3 separate regions of the Homo sapiens genome follow, and regions 2 and 3 are each linked to region 1. Evidence: promoter capture Hi-C in 16 types of primary human blood cells and fetal thymus (Javierre and others, 2016). All regions are on one chromosome and are shown on one strand. The core of a region is centred on a gene start or on the middle of the fragment in contact, and the rest is flanking DNA. Distances in the headings are between cores, read along the strand shown.

What was found. The method cuts DNA at HindIII sites, captures the fragments that hold promoters and counts their contacts. A CHiCAGO score of 5 or more calls a contact.
Region 2: a contact is called between a fragment that was not itself captured here and the fragment with the promoter of NF2 in region 1, in 2 of 17 cell types (fetal thymus and neutrophils). The highest score is 5.9, in fetal thymus.
Region 3: a contact is called between a fragment that was not itself captured here and the fragment with the promoter of NF2 in region 1, in 2 of 17 cell types (fetal thymus and non-activated CD4 T cells). The highest score is 7.3, in fetal thymus.

What each region holds. Positions count from the first base shown.
Region 1 is chr22:29,600,888-29,606,041 of GRCh38, forward strand. NF2 (NF2, moesin-ezrin-radixin like (MERLIN) tumor suppressor) reads left to right here and starts at 2,746. Exons shown (of 16, transcript NM_000268.4): 1 at 2,746-3,225. The coding sequence starts at 3,112. RefSeq lists an enhancer at 2,132-2,261 and a silencer at 2,512-3,091. The HindIII fragment of the contact is 9,228 bases long and covers 1-3,511 here.
Region 2 is chr22:30,387,384-30,392,537 of GRCh38, forward strand. It overlaps RNF215 (ring finger protein 215), which reads right to left and starts at 28. Exons shown (of 9, transcript NM_001017981.2): 1 at 1-28. RefSeq lists a silencer at 1-127 and an enhancer at 4,121-4,310. The HindIII fragment of the contact is 6,025 bases long and covers 1-5,054 here.
Region 3 is chr22:30,308,126-30,313,279 of GRCh38, forward strand. All of the region lies in intron 1 of TBC1D10A (TBC1 domain family member 10A), which reads right to left. Among named protein-coding and RNA genes, the nearest start is that of TBC1D10A, 16 kb to the right of the region's middle. RefSeq lists enhancers at 515-574, 635-724, 1,791-1,840. The HindIII fragment of the contact is 5,585 bases long and covers 1-4,910 here.

The sequences.
Region 1 (5,154 bases), core at 1,496-3,995:
TTACAGGTGTAAGCCACTGTGTCCAACCTGTGAATGGCACTTTTAATACCAGCAAAAGATTCTATCACATCGATTTTTATTCCTGGCCCTGACCTCCCTTCTGGGATTCAAACCCATATGTCCAGCTGGATGTCCTCCCAGGAACATTAAATTTGGCATTTGGGGCCAATTAGCCCAGTGCCTAGCACCTGGCAAGTCTTTTCATAAAAATGAGCTATTACCAATCATCAGTGTCGCTTTTTAGTCCCTGCTAGCTGATCCACCTCCTTTTGCTACTCCTCACTGGGTTCCCAGTGTCACGCATTTTCTTTTTCCTTTTTTTTTGAGACGGAGTCTCGCACTCTCGCCCAGGCTGGAGTGCAGTGGCGCCATCTCGGCTCACTGCAAGCTCCGCCTCCCGGGTTCACGTCATTCTCCTGCCTCCGCCTCCCGAGTAGCTGGGACTACAGGCGCCCGCCACCACGCCCGGCTAATTTTTTGTATTTTTAGTAGAGACAGGGTTTCACCGTGTTAGCCAGGATGGTCTCGATCTCCTGACCTTGTGATCTGCCTGCCTCCCAAAGTGCTGGGATTACAGGCGTGAGCCACTGGGCCCGGCCCGGTGTCACGTATTTTTATCAGCAGCCATTTGTTGTCCCTGTGGGGAGCCCAGAAAACCCAGCCCGGTTCTCCCACCTGCGGGGAAGAAATGAAGCAATGATAATGAAGACACTCCCATGCCAAGCCCATACTGCCCTGAGCAATCAGTTTTGGTGGGGAGAATTTGCTAGCAGAAGGCAGGACATAAAGTCCCCACAGCAGCCTCACTGGGTGTGGCAGCAAATCATTCCTGAGGCCTGGCCGGTGCTACCAGGCACAGCAGGGGTCCGTGCAGAAGAACTAGATTTATTCCATTAATATACCGTTACAGCAACAATGTCTGCTGAGTACTCCGGAACTGTAATTCACATTTCCTGAGGCTGTAGTAGGGAGAATTTGGAAGCAGGGCAGCACAGTGCTAACCAGCAGGCTCTGGGTGGGACAGACCTGGGTTTGAGTCCTAGCTTTGCCTTTCACTATCTGCATTATAGTCAGCGAGTGGCTCTATCATATCTCTCAGTATCTTCACCTGTGGAGTTGGGGGGGTGATGCTAATGTTAGCTAACATTTATGGGGTGATTATTGTTGTTAAAACTCAGTACACCGGGCGCGGTGGCTCACGCCTGTAATCCCAGCACTTTGGGAGGCCAAGGTGGGCAGATCACCTGAGGTCAGAAGTTTGAGACCAGCCTGGCTAACATGGTGAAACCCCGTCCCTACTAAAAATACAAAAATTAGCCGGGCGTGGTGGCGGGTGCCTGTAATCCCAACTACTGGGGAGGCTGAGGCAGGAGAATTGCTTGAACCCGGGAGGCGGAGGTTGCAGAGAGCCGAGACCGCCCCATTGTACTCCAGCCTGGGCAACAAGAGCGAAACTCTGTCTCAAAACAAAAAACAAACGAAAAAACACAGTAAATTGTCCCTATTTGACTACTAAGAGCTATTTTAAAATAGAATTTATTATCTAAGTACAGAAAGGTGTAATTATCCCCCCTACACCCGTTAGAACCCTTGATGACACTAAATAAATAATACATGAATACGGTTCAAAAATGGGCATCATAGAGTATAAAATAAAGAATGCTTTCATTTTCAACCCAAATTCAGCAATTTCATAGGATGCCAGGCTCAGCTCTAAAGCCTTATATGTATTCAGTGCGCTGAAATTCAACAACCTCACGAGGTAGGTATAACCAATAATAATTCTAGGCGGGGCGTGGTGGCTCACGCCTGTAATCCTAGCACTTCGGGAGGCCGAGGCGGGCGGATCACCTGAGGTTCGAGACCAGCCTGACGAACATGGAGAAACCCCGTCTCTAATAAAAATACAAAATTAGCCGGGCGTGGTGACGCATACCTGTAATCCCAGCTACTCGGGAGGCTGACGCCGGAAAATCGCTTGAACCCGGGAGGCGGAGGTTGCAGTGAGCCGAGATCGCGCCACTGCACTCCAGCCTGGGCAACAAGAGCGAAACTCCGTCCCAATAATAATAATAATTAATAATAATAATAATAACAATAATAATAATAATTCTAAAGGGAAGCAGAGGGATCTGGCGGGAAAGTGCCAGCAAACCTAACAGGCCTCCACAAGTGTCTTTAAAGTTTCATAGGGGTCGGTATATGTGATTAACTGCCAAAGAAGAATATTCGCCGTGTGTCCGAAACGCAGTCCCCTGGGGCGCCACACTCGGAGCCTACTTGAACCGAAGAGTCCCTCCCTGGGCCAACGAAGGACCCAATTCCCCTCGCCCCGGATCCAGCCTCTAAGTGGTTTCCCGGGTAAGGTCAGCAGAGGTCCGCCGCCTCAACCAGTCTTGTTAGAGTAGGCACAAAAGCATTCAGAGTGACTGCCACTGTAGCCACTCAACGCCGAGCCTAGGCCTGCTTTTTTTGCAGTTAGAGTGAAACTTTCCATTGGTGGAGTCACCCCAAAGGAGGCGGGACGGAGCGGGAAAGTCCTGCCTACCTTGGCCTTCCCAGCCAATCGCAGCATCTATGCGTCAGCCTCCGGTTCGGTTGCGCTGCGCGTAGTGGTCTGGGCGACCTGAGGGCGGGGCCGGGAGCAGGCCCCGGGCTGTGGGGAGGGTGCGCTTCCCGCGGGCGCGCGGAGTGAGGACGGTGACAGCCACGCGCGCGCGTACGCGCCCGATGCAGCGCGGCCCCGTGACCCTAGTCGGCCGCTGAGAGGCGCGCGGAGTCTGGGCCGCTGCCGTCTAGGGGTCCCGTCCCGAGGCGTCCCCGGCATCTCCGGCCCGAATCCCGGAGTGCCGGGTCGCGCCTGCACCGAAGGTCCCGGCTCCTGTGCCCTCCCTGCAGCCGTCAGGGCCCGTCCCCCAACTCCCCTTTCCGCTCAGGCAGGGTCCTCGCGGCCCATGCTGGCCGCTGGGGACCCGCGCAGCCCAGACCGTTCCCGGGCCGGGCAGCCGGCCACCATGGTGGCCCTGAGGCCTGTGCAGCAACTCCAGGGGGGCTAAAGGGCTCAGAGTGCAGGCCGTGGGGCGCGAGGGTCCCGGGCCTGAGCCCCGCGCCATGGCCGGGGCCATCGCTTCCCGCATGAGCTTCAGCTCTCTCAAGAGGAAGCAACCCAAGACGTTCACCGTGAGGATCGTCACCATGGACGCCGAGATGGAGTTCAATTGCGAGGTAACCGGCCGGCAGCCCCGACTGCTGCGGTGACAGTCGAGGTGGAAGCTCGAGAGGTTCTCTTTATATCATCTTATGGGTGTAGCTAGAGACGGGCAGAACCGGAAGGGCCAACTAGGCCCAAAACCTCATGTTAAAGATGATTGCTGCTTTTTTTCATAGGACTTTTGGGTTTTGGCATTTCCTGAAGGTTATTTTCATTCATTGTTATTGGAAGAAGCTGGATGCTCCTGTGATAGAAAATTCAGGATTTCAGTGTCAGGCTTAAGTTAGGCTTACGCTTAAAAGCTTGAAAGTTTATTCTTTCATTAGGTAATATTGTTATGTACCCAGGTATTAGAAGTTGCGTCTTGTTTATTGGAAAGCCAATACTTGTTTCCCTTTTCTAAAGCTTGCATATTCTGGGAAAAAAAACCCTTTGAAGAACGATATAACATCTCATACTTACTTTCCACATAGTTTCCAACATGATGATAACAGCTATCAATTGTTCAGTATTTTCAAAGTGCTAGACATTTGCACATTTAATCCTCAGAACAAACCCATTTATCTAGTAAATGGCAAGGTGGGGTTTTGAACCAAGCTCACAGCCCGTACAGTACTGCTTCTCAAGTAATTTAAGTTCTTGCTGCTAAAAGTGTGGTTTGTGGACCAGCAGCATTGGCAGCAGTAAGCAAGGGTTGGCATGCTTTTTCTGTACAGGACCACATAGTAAATATTTTCAACTTTGTAGACTAGAGAATCTCTGTTGGAGTTATTCAACTCTTCAACTCTACCATTGTAACACAAAAGCAGCCTTAGATAAGATCAGCTTCCAGCATGACAGCTTAAGGAACCCATTCCTCTGTAAAACTGGTGAAAATTCTTTTTTGTTTTGTTTCGTTTTGAGACAGAATCTCACTCTGTCACCGAGGCTGGCATGCAGTAGTGTGATCATGGCTTACTGCAACCCTGACCAACCTCCCTGGCTCAATCAGTCCTCCTGCCTCAGCCTCTCGAGTAGCTGGGACCACAGGCGTGTGCCACCACACCTGGCTAATTTTTTTTTTTTTTTTTTTTTTGAGACGGAGTCTCGCTCTGTCACCCAGAGTGCACCGGGCTAGAGTGCAATGGCGCGATCTTGTCTCACTGCCACCTCCACTTCCAGGTTCAAGTGATTCTCCTGCTTCAGCCTTCCAGGTAGCTGGGATTACAGGCGTGCGCCACCTCGTCTGGCTAATTTTTCTATTTTTAGTAGAGACAGGGTTTCACCATATTGGGCAGGCTGATCTCGAACTCCTGACCTCGTGACCAGCCGACCTGGGCCTCCCAAAGTGGTGGGAAAGTGGTGCGATTACAGATGTGAGCCACCCCGCCCAGCCTCACCTAGCTAATTTTTGTAAAGACAGGGTTTTGCCATGTTGCCCAGGCTGATCTTGAACTCCTGAGCTCAAGCAATCCACTCGCCTTGGCCTCCCAAAGTGATGGGATTACAGATGCAGCCACCACGCCTGGCCCAAAAATTCTTTTTTTAAAATCAACTATTTAAACCCTCCGGCAATGGTCCTGAGGGCAAACAACAAATGAAAAAACACCTATTCAAGAAAATCTACAAATTCGGTAAGAAAGATGAGAGGGTATGGTATTTGAACCAAGATCATTCCCTCCTTACTCACTCCTAGCTTAGTGAGGTGGAGCTTCTACTCCAGACTATTGCAAACTGTAATACCGGGCACTGCTCCCCCAGCTCCCAATCAAATGCTTTCTTCCCAGGAAAAGCAGGACATCAGCATTTCTCATCCTACCTAGAGCTACTTGTTGCTGAGGTTAAAACCTGTGTGAGTGCAATTGAAAGTTGGAGCTCTCTTTTTTTTTCTTTTGAGACGGAGTTTTGCTCTTGTTGCTCAAACTGGAGTGCAATGGTGTGATCTCGCCTCACCGCAGCCTCTG
Region 2 (5,154 bases), core at 792-3,291, 790 kb after region 1:
AGGCCGCTGCCGGACGGGGCGGGGCGCCGGGAGGGGCGGGGCCGCGGCCGGACGGGGCGGGGCACCAGGAGGAACGGAGTGGGCGCTTGGCGGCTCTCGCGCCCAGACTGGGCCGCGGGCGCCCCCTGGTGGCCGCGGAGAGCTCAGGTGCCCGCGGCTGAGGGAGCTGGAGAGGGGCAAAACCGGGGTCGCAGCGGGAAGGCGGAAAGTCAGAGAGAGGAGGTGCTTCGGCAGCGGACGCGTCAGCGGGGCAGACAGGAAAATAGTTGGAAAGGGCGACCTGGGGGAGCAGAGACACGATCAGAGCCTGAGAAGGGCAGGAGCAAGGGATGTCTAAGGGGCCTGGTGGCAGGCCCTTGTTCTGCGGCAGCCCCGTGGACCCACGGGGTGGCCAGGGCCAAGTCACATCCCTCTCTTCCCCGGTCCTCCCTGTCTCGACCCCACTAAACAGCAGGAGGCAGAGAACCAGAGACTGGCGTGGGAAGCCGACAGGGGAGATAGAGGGGCAGGGGAAAGGGGCTGGGGGGCAAGGCAAAACGAAGCAGGCAGGGACTCAGTGCCTCAGTGGGACCGAGAGGCTGGGTCACTTCCCTCATCTGTGAAATGGGCACCATAGGCCGGGCGCGGTGGCTCACGCCTGTAATCCCAGCACTTTGGGAGGCCGAGGCGGGCGGATCACCTGAGGTCGGGAGTTCGAGACCCGCCTGACCAACATGGAGAAACCCCGTCTCTACTAAAAATACAAAATTAGCCGGGCGTGGTGGCGCATGCCTGTAATTCCAGCTACTCAGGAGGCTGAGGCAGGAGAATCGCTTGAACCCGGGAGGCGGAGGTTGCGGCGAGCCGAGATCGCGCCATTGGAATCCAGCCTGGGCGACAAGAGTGAAACTCCGTCTCTAAATAAATAAATAAATAAATAAGCACCATGTACAATCAACACTGCCTCACCCCCAGCAAATAACTCAAATGTCTACTGGAATGTGGAAGTTCCACTACTGTTCTAAAACTTGTCCGTTTCTCCAAGGGTTGGGGCTGCTGGGAGCTGGCTCAGTCTGAAACCTGAGCCTTTAAAAATTGTATGGTGGGCAGGGCGCGGTGGGTCACGCCTGTAATCCCAGCACTTTGGGAGGCTGAGGCAGGCGGATCATGAGGTTAGCAGATCGAAACCATCGTGGCTAACAAGGTGAAACCCCGTCTCTACTAAAAATGCAAAAAAATAGCCGGGCATGTTGGGAGGCGCCTGTAGTCCCAGCTACTCGGGAGGCTGAGGCAGCAGAATGGCGTGAACCCGGGAGGCGGAGCTTGCAGTGACCTGAGATGGTGCCACTGCACTCCAACCTGGGCCAGATGAGCCACAACACTCTTTTTTCTCCAGAAAAATTGAAAGAATTTTACAGTGAACACCTGTAGGAACACTGATATGGGATGACCAAGTTGCTCCTGAAGAAGTGTGAGACGGGTATATAAGACAGCCCCCGATATCAGCCTAAAGACAGACAAATGGAACATGAAATAGGCCAGAAACTGACCCACACATCTAAAGATGGTGTACATCAGAGGAAACATTGTGTTTGTGGAGATACAAGGAGGCAGTAGCATGGACTGTTTGGTAAATTGTGCTAAGAAATTGAATTAACCATTAGGAGAAGAAATTAGACCCCTATTACATACACATCATATACAAAATATGAATTCCATATAGATTAAAGACCTAAATAAGAAAAGTAAAAGTTTAAGCATTAAAAAATTATTTATGCATTTATTTTTGAGACAGGGTCTCTCTCTGTTGCCCAGGCTGGAATGCAATGGTGCCTTCTCAGCTCATTGCAACCTCCAGGGTCAACTGATTCTCCCACCTCAGCCTCCAAAGTAGCTGAGACCACAGGGGTGTGTCACCATGCCCAGCTAATTTTTTTTTTTTTTTTTTTTTTTTTTGTAGAGACAGGGTTTCACCATGTTGCCCACGCTGGTCTTGAACTCCTGGGCTCAAGGGAACTGCCTGCCTCAGCCTCCCAAAGTGCTGGGCTTACAGGCAATAGCCACTGCACGTAGCTAGATTCTCTGTTCTGTTCCATTGGTCTATAGTAGTCTCCCCTTACCTGAGGTTTTAGTTACCTTCAGCCAACCGAGGTCCAAAAAAATATTAAATGGAAAATTCCAGAAATAAACAGTTCATAAGTTTTAAATTGCATGCTGTTCTGAGTAGCATGATGAAATCTCTTGCCCTTCCTCTCCATCCCTCCCTGGATATGAATCCTCCCCACGCTGTAAATGTTACCACCTGTTAGTCACTTAGTAGGCCTCAGAGTTATCAGATTGAAGAAACACAGTATGTTTTCAGCACTACCTGAGGTTTCCGGCATCCACTGAGGATCTTGGAATGTATCGCCCAAGGATAAAGGATCACTAATTGGATATGTTACTAACGTTTTTTCATATGTGGGAAAGCACTCTTCATAAGCTACAAAATGCACTGTGGAAGCCCCGTGGTGCCCGTGAAGAGGCTTGCTTCTCCATTTCTGTGACTGTCCCAGCCCATCTGTCAGCCCCAACAACAGGGTTGCAAGGATGCACCCTGTAATCAGCCAGGTCTTTGGCTCCATGTTCTGCCTGCCCTGTCCCCACTTTCTCCCTACCCTTCACCCCACTGACCTAGTCACCCCTCAACATACACACTCCAACCAGATGCAGGTCCTTGTTCACGCTTGTCCCCCACCTAGAACACAGTTCTGCTTCCCTACAAATATCCACATCCTAGCCTTCCATCAGTGGGAGCCGGAGCCCCCTTGCAAACTTGGTGGGTAACCAGTTCCCTGTGGTGTGTTCTTCCATGGGGTAACCCCTGGTTATCGCAGAAGGAACAAGAGCTGGAGGATGTTACCTCAACGTGGGTGGGTGTAGCTCAGCCCAGCCAGGGGCCTTCTGCTGCTTTGGGGTGAGGAGGGTTAGGGGGTGGGTAAAGAAACAGTAAAGATTGGAGCCAATGCTGGCGGGGGGCAGAGTGCAGTGTAAGCCCAGGAAGTGAGGCAGCCAAGGGTGGGAGATTGACTGCAAGGAGACGAGTGACCTTGAGGCCCTGCCTGGGAGTGGAGTATCTGAGGAGAAGGGGACTGGAGGACCCCAGAAGCGGGGGAAGGGATGCCAGCTAAGAGACATGCAGGCACCCTGCTCCCAGGGATGGACAACAGGACCCTCAGCCCTGTGGGCTCTCTCTGGAGTAGCCCAACCCGCAGATCCAAACTCCCAAGAGAGGGTGGGGAGCTAGAGCGGACAGGACTGTCACTCTCTCACCATGGGCCTCTGGGCAAGCCACTTCCGTTTTCTTGGCCTGTGTCCTCAGTTGTAAAATGGGAGCTTGGACTAAATGACTTGGGAGGGCCTTTCATCAGACATGCTGTGATTCCAAGTAGCTTGTTTCTTGGGATACAAGGTTTCCTGGCCCTGGGCTGGGCAGAGACCTGCATGGAGAAGGCCCCAATTCCTCTGTCTCTCCTTATTCTGTAAAGTTGCAGGGGGACCTAGGAAGAAACAAAGCTACTAATGAAAGTGTGAGGCATGGAATATGTTACCTCAGCAGTGGAAGGGGGTGGTGATGAGGATGAAATGTTTTAGAATTGGTACCAGGAATGGGGTGTATGACAAGGCCCTTGAATTCCGTGAACCTGAGCCCTCTGCTTCTCTTCCTTTGCTGTGAAATGAGTTATTTGGTCACACACCAGGCTGTGCAAATGCCAAAAAAAAGGCATTCCGTGAGTACACAGATGGTGGTGCTGGCAGAAGGATGAAGGGCAGGGAAGGCAAATCCACATCTAGAATATGTGTCTATTCCAGTGAGCATGAACCTGGGCCCCACCTATGAGGAAGAGGCCAATGTAATCAAGCTGCCACCAGGTGGCAGGCTGGTCCCTGGGGAATGTGGCCACATGGGGCCCAGTGACTTTGTTTTGTACAAAAAGGGCCTTGAAGCAGACAATGCCTAACTCATGGAAATGTGTCACCATCAGTGGGGGCTTCTGGCCCAGTGGCCACAGGGACGGCTAGGCCTGAGGTGGTGGTATTTTTAGAACATGGAGGTCCCTAAGATTCCTTTACCTTATGGACATGAGGCCCAGCACATAAAACAAGTTGTCTTAGAAGATCTTAAAGTGTCCCTTGATTGCCTAGTTCCATCTGCCACCTCCCTCCACTCACCCAGATGCTCAGAGGGTCGATGACTCACTCAAGATCACACAGGGCAGATGCAAAGTAGCCGCAGCTTAACTGTGGCATGGGCTGTAAAGTAGAGGGGGTCCTGCTCCTTCCTTGGGTCCAGCTCTCAGGGACAGGGTGAGCGTCATGCCCACAAATGGATATCAAAGGACTTCTCGGTGCTAGGCACTGGGCATGGAGCAGTGACCGTGACCAGCAATGGCTTCTGCCCTTGAGAACAGAGAGAAAACCATAACCACATACACAAGCAAGATCATTTCAGGCCACGGTAGGTGCCACAGGAATGAGATAAAATAGCCTCAGAGAGGGGCTGGGGGCCAGAGGCCACTTCAACCTCATTACCAGGGAAGGGAGACCTCTCTAAGAGGTGGTGTGTGGGCTGGCACCTGAATGGCAAGAATATTCAAGAGAAGAAACAGAGAATGCAAGTGAAAACAGCTGATACCAGCTGGGTACAGTGGGTCATGCCTGCAATCCCAGCAGTTTGGGAGGCCACAGTGGGAGGATCAGTTGAGGCCAAGAGTTCAAGACCAGCCTGGGCAACATAGTGAGACCCCCATCTCTACAAAAAGAAACCCACAAAAAATTTAAAAAAACAGCCAATAGCTTTACAGTGTTCCAGGTACTCTTCAACGTTTTTTTCATGAATTCGCTCATTTAATCTCATTCCAATCACATGAGGTAGTAAGATTATCACTGCCATTTTACAGATGAGAAATTGAGGCAGAGGTCAAGTAACTTTGCTAGGTTATAGAACCCGGACCCAAACCTAGGTAGTCTGGTTCCAGAGTTGGTGGGCCCACTCCTATGCCATTCTGCTCTGAGAGGTCACTGGTGTGGGAACAAGCTTGCCTACCGAATCTGGACTCTATTTTAGCTCTATTTGGGGTGGAAATGGCAACCCATCCTTCCCAAGCGAAGTCCCCAGGCTCCTGCCAGCTAGTG
Region 3 (5,154 bases), core at 868-3,367, 710 kb after region 1:
GCTTAGTAATGTTAAGAGTGTTTTAAGACCATGTAGCTATAAGTGGCAGAGCTGGGACTCAAACCCAGGCCTGACTGACTCTACAGCTCATGCTCTTGACCCTTGTACTACACTTCTCTGCCTCCACAGGCCAAGCCCTCAGCCTCCACACAGCCTGCATGCCTGCATGCCTGCATGCCTGCCTGCCTGCATGCCTGCATGCCTGCATGCCTGCCTGCCTGCCTGCCTAGATCTCGTAAAATGTCCTCCAACCTGAAGATCTTCATCCTGGCTCAGAACACCATGTCTCATGCTTTTTAAACTGAGACCCACACAAACACAACACACATACACACACACAACCAGAATACATTTTAGGAAACGAGTTGCCCTTACATGTACTAATGCACTCTGATATTTCCAGATTGATTTTCTATTTTTCTATTCTATTGTTTTAAATGCTGGTCACAAGCCCCTAAAACTGATTTCAGCACCAACTGACAAATGAGTCAAGTCATTAAGTGTGAAATATGCACTTCATTACCACTTGCTCATATTACTCAGCACTGTCCCTCCCCAGCTGGACCGGGTCTTGAACTTCTTCTGTGACTCCTACCACACGCCCCAGGTGTTCAACAGCTGCCTGCCTGGCTTTCTCCATGACATCATTACCTTCATCTGCACTGCATCAGGGCTACAAGCTACTTCTGCCTTAGAAATTGTACGTGTCCCTCTAATAGCCCAGTGAAGTGGGGCCCTCACAGATTAATTACTATTTCCATTTGGACCATGACAGACTTGGCCTGATCAGAAAGGTTGTATGACTTGGACAAAGTCACAAAGCTAATAAGTAAGTAGCTGACCCAGGGCTTCCCCTCTGTCACAGTGACCTATATGCTATTTCCAGTTCCCTGGGGAAGGCTGTGGGGAAATCAGGCCCTTCTCCAGATGCTTCTGTGTGGCTCCATCTCTGGCGCCCAAGCCACTGGAGACAGTCTAACCCCCTCCTCCAGTGTTGTGACTGCCCCAGTGAGTGGCCTGCCCGTACCTAGCAATGCTCAGAGACACCAATACACTGGATGGGATGGTTTGCCAGCACAACCTCAGGTGCAGATGGTAAGCCTGGGTAATCTGCCATTTTTTTTTTTTTGAGACGGAGTCTTGCTCTGTCGCCCAGGCTGGAGTGCAGTGGCATGATCTCAGCTCACTGCAACCTCCACCTCCCGGGTTTAAGTGATTCTCTTGCTTCAGCATCCCAAGTAGCTGGGGCACCACCACACCCAGCTAATTTTTGTATTTTTAGTAGAGACGGGGTTTCACCATGTTGGCCAGGATGGTCTCAATCTCTTGACTATGTGATCCACCCGCCTCAGCCTCCCAAAGTGCTGGGATGACAGGCATGAGCCACCGCACCCGGCCAGGGCAATCTGCCATTTGCTGGCAACCCCAGCTTCTGAGGAGGAAAGGCTCAGAGGAGACAAAGGTGGCACCTAATCACAGATCTTGTCAGGCTCCTGGACTGGAACAGGCTTAGCCATGCTGTGCCACGTCATGGTCCAAGGCAGCAGTGACACTCTGCTGACCCCATTCTCTGTAGGTTCCCAGTTTCCTAGCGTTCTCCCAAAACCCAGAGGCTTGAGGCTTCCAAAAGTTCAGAAGGACAAGACTGCTTCCCAGGCTACTGAGACCAAGGGCTGGGGTTCTCTCTTCCCTTGTCCTTCTAGACATCTGCTTTCTGCCCAAGCACATCTCAGCACCTCTGGCTAGGCAGGTTCAGCAAGGGCAGTGTCCATGCTCATCACCTCCTTATCCTAGCCTGTCGTGGGAGATAAATCTTGATACCAAGGAACCCGTCTAAACCCTCCTCCAAGCCTCACTCCCTGAACCAGCCCAAACAAAGAGAAATACACCCTAAGCAGAAAGTCTGAGGTCACAGACCACAGGACTGATCCTCCTCTCACCCATAGGGGAAACCAGGTGGGGTGTAGGGGAGAATAAATAGAGTGGGGACTTGAAGTTAGCTGAGCTAGGTACTCCAGTTCTGCCATCTACTAACTGGGAGACCATGTGCAAAAAGTGACAACTTCTTCATCTTTCAGTGGGGTCATAACGCACACCTCATCTCTTATAGGGCTGCAATGAGGAATAAATGTGTACAAGGGCCCAGCCTGGTGGGTGGCCAGCAAATGGTAGCTATTAGGTGACTGGTATTTGCGGCTTAACTAGCAATTTCACATCTCTTTTCTCATCTGACTGGTCCCCATACACAGGCCTTTGAGGAAGGCAGGGCATGATTACCACCATTTTACTCATGAAGCAATTGAGGCTCTGAGAGATTACTTAATTTGCTCAATGGTAAACAAATTCTAACTCCTGGCCGCTGATCCAAGCTCTACCGCTTTACAGCTGTGTGAAACAGGGCTGGCTGCTTTGCTCTCTGAGCTTCCAGTTCCTCATCTGTAACCCAGGAGGAATGCCACCTCCTCAGAGAACATTGGTAAACATGATGTGAGGCAATTAAGAGCTGACACTTTCATGCGCTGGCCGTGTACTAGCTCTGCCAAGCACTACACAGGCACACAATCCCCCAAGGAAATAGCTTTAATTATCTCCATTTAATAGACAAGAACACTAAGATTCAGCACAGTGGAGTAATATGCCCAAGGTTACATAGCCTGGAAGTAGAGGCTGCCACCTGAGCACTAAACTATACAAGACATATAAAGTCCCCCGCTCATACCATGGCTTCAATCCCTGTCACATTCCCTTCCCTCTTCTTATCACCCTCTGTGCCGAGAAAGGCAGGGGTGAATAACGTGAAAAAAACCCCTCACACTTGGGTCTCCAGGATGGAGAGGAGGCAGTTGGAGGAAGTCCCACCAAAGTGTGGAAAATTGGGAAGTGGATGTGCAGGGGGAGCATGGCCAATCACCGATCCAGAGGGTTTCCCTCTCCACCCAGAGCCTGAAAGTGAAGTGAGGACAAACAAAAGGCTGACCTGTTTTGCATACTAGGCAACAACCTCTGGAGTTCACTACCCTAAGAGGTGGTAATGAATGAAGGTATAAATGGCTTTTAGACCAGTTCCATAAGAAGTGATGATGAGAAACCAAAGGCAGGAGAGGGTAGGCTGGTGGTGTGCAAATGGCTGTCAGGACTGGGAAACCTATGAGATCATGCAGTGAGGCCATCCCCTCCCCAGAAGGTAAGCGGTCTGCCTGACGCCACACACTCTGTGAGTTGGTAGGAAAAAGGAAGAGGGTCTGCAGCAGCCTGGCACTCCCTTCTGGGGCCCGGCCACCCCTGCCTAGGAGCCGGCTGGCAGTGTCCAGGCTCCCTGTCTGAGTGAGAGAGTCTGGCTTGCTTCACTCTCCCTCCTTCCCAATGCAGGCTAATTCTGGGGCTGCCTGTCTTTCCCATGAGGAATTCCCTGGCTCTGCTCCTTCTAGTGCTGGGTCAGTGCACAATGGTAAACAGGTTCTCTCCACCCTTCACTGGCCTTGGTGCCCTGGACCTCTGCCCAGCTCTCTACTCTGCTCAGCTCCACCCTACTCAGTGTGAGAAATGGTTCCTTTAGCACTAGCCTTGCTGGCTCCCAAAAAGAAAAACCAAGGTATCTACCTTCCTCTGATGCACTCATCTAGGGAAGGGCGTAGACCACAGAGAAACTCCCAAGCAGCTCTCCCTGACAACTGCAGAAAGGTATTAGATAGGGTCTTGCTCTGTCGCCCAAGATGGAGTGCAGTGGCATGATCTCGGCTCACTGCAGCCTCCGCCTCCTGGGCTTAAGCCATCCTCCCACCTCAGCCTCTCGAGTAGCTGGGACCATAGGCTCATGCTACCATGCCCCACTAAGTTTTGCATTTTTTGTAGAGACAAGGTTTCACCGTGTTGCCCAGGCTAGTCTCAAACTCCTGGGCTCAAGTGATCTGCCTGCATCAGCCTCCCAAAGTGTTAGGATTACGGGTATTAGTGACTGAGTGCCGCCTGAGACTATTCTCAACAGAAGACATCTTTTCTCCAAATCCCAGCTCCTACCAGGCAGAGTGCTGCTTGAAATTCCCTTGCTGGTGACTGAGTCCTTGGATCACAATCTCACTGCAGGCACCCAGGGGCCACCCTGACTCATCCTTACCAAACTGCTAGATCTCATTGATAGATCTTACCAAAATTAGTCTTGACTCACTGTTTATATAAGGCCCCTCCTCTGCCCAGACTCGTCCATGGCTCCCTACTGCCCTCATTATCCAACAGAAACCTCAGACCCTGTAGCTGGGCATTACGGCACACGCCCTGTCATCCCAGCTGCTCGGGAGACTGAAGTGGGAGGATCACTTGAGCTCAGGAGTTTGAAGCTGCAGTGAACCATGATTGTGCCACTGCACCCTAGACTGGGCCACTGGGTCACAGGGCAAGACCTTTTCTCAAAACAAACAAAACAAACAGAAAACAAAGAACAATAACAACAACAACAACAAAAACAACACAAAAAACAAAGAAACTTCAGGCCCTGGCTCTCAAGGCCCTCCTGTTCCCCTGCACATCCCTTTCTCCCCTAGTCCCATCTCTATAGGCCCCTACCCCTGAGCCATCTTCCTTCAACCCCCATTCAATTTTGGTGCCATCATCTTGGGAAGCATCATTCCAAACTCCTTCTCATCTCTACAAAGCCTCTCCTAACTACTCCAGGGACAGAACACAATCAGGCCCTCATTATATTCCATGCACACCTTTCTAGAGCCTGTGTTCCAGGCCCTGAATCTACAAAGATGAATAAAATGTGGTCCCTGCCCTTGAGGAGGTCAATCTGGCATCAACAAACAGGTAGGTAAATAACTAGCACACAGAGAAGAAGTGCCATCACAGGAGCATGTAGAAGGGGCTAGGAGACTGCAAAAAGACCCCAGGGTGAGGACGGGCTGTTTAGAGAAAGCTTTAAAGGGGAATTGACTTTTGAATTGGGGTTTGAAGGGTGACAGGAAGTAGCTAGGCTGAGAAAGGGGAAAGAACACACCAGGCAAAACACTCAGTATGTTCAAATGCTAGTTAATAGGAGAGGGAATGGCTTGTTTGGGGAATGTGAGCAGTCCAGTGGGACAGGTGGAGCTTCTCCACCTAAGGGCTGTTCTGCAGAGGCAGCATTTCATGAGAAGGCGCGTTCCTGGAGGGCAGGGG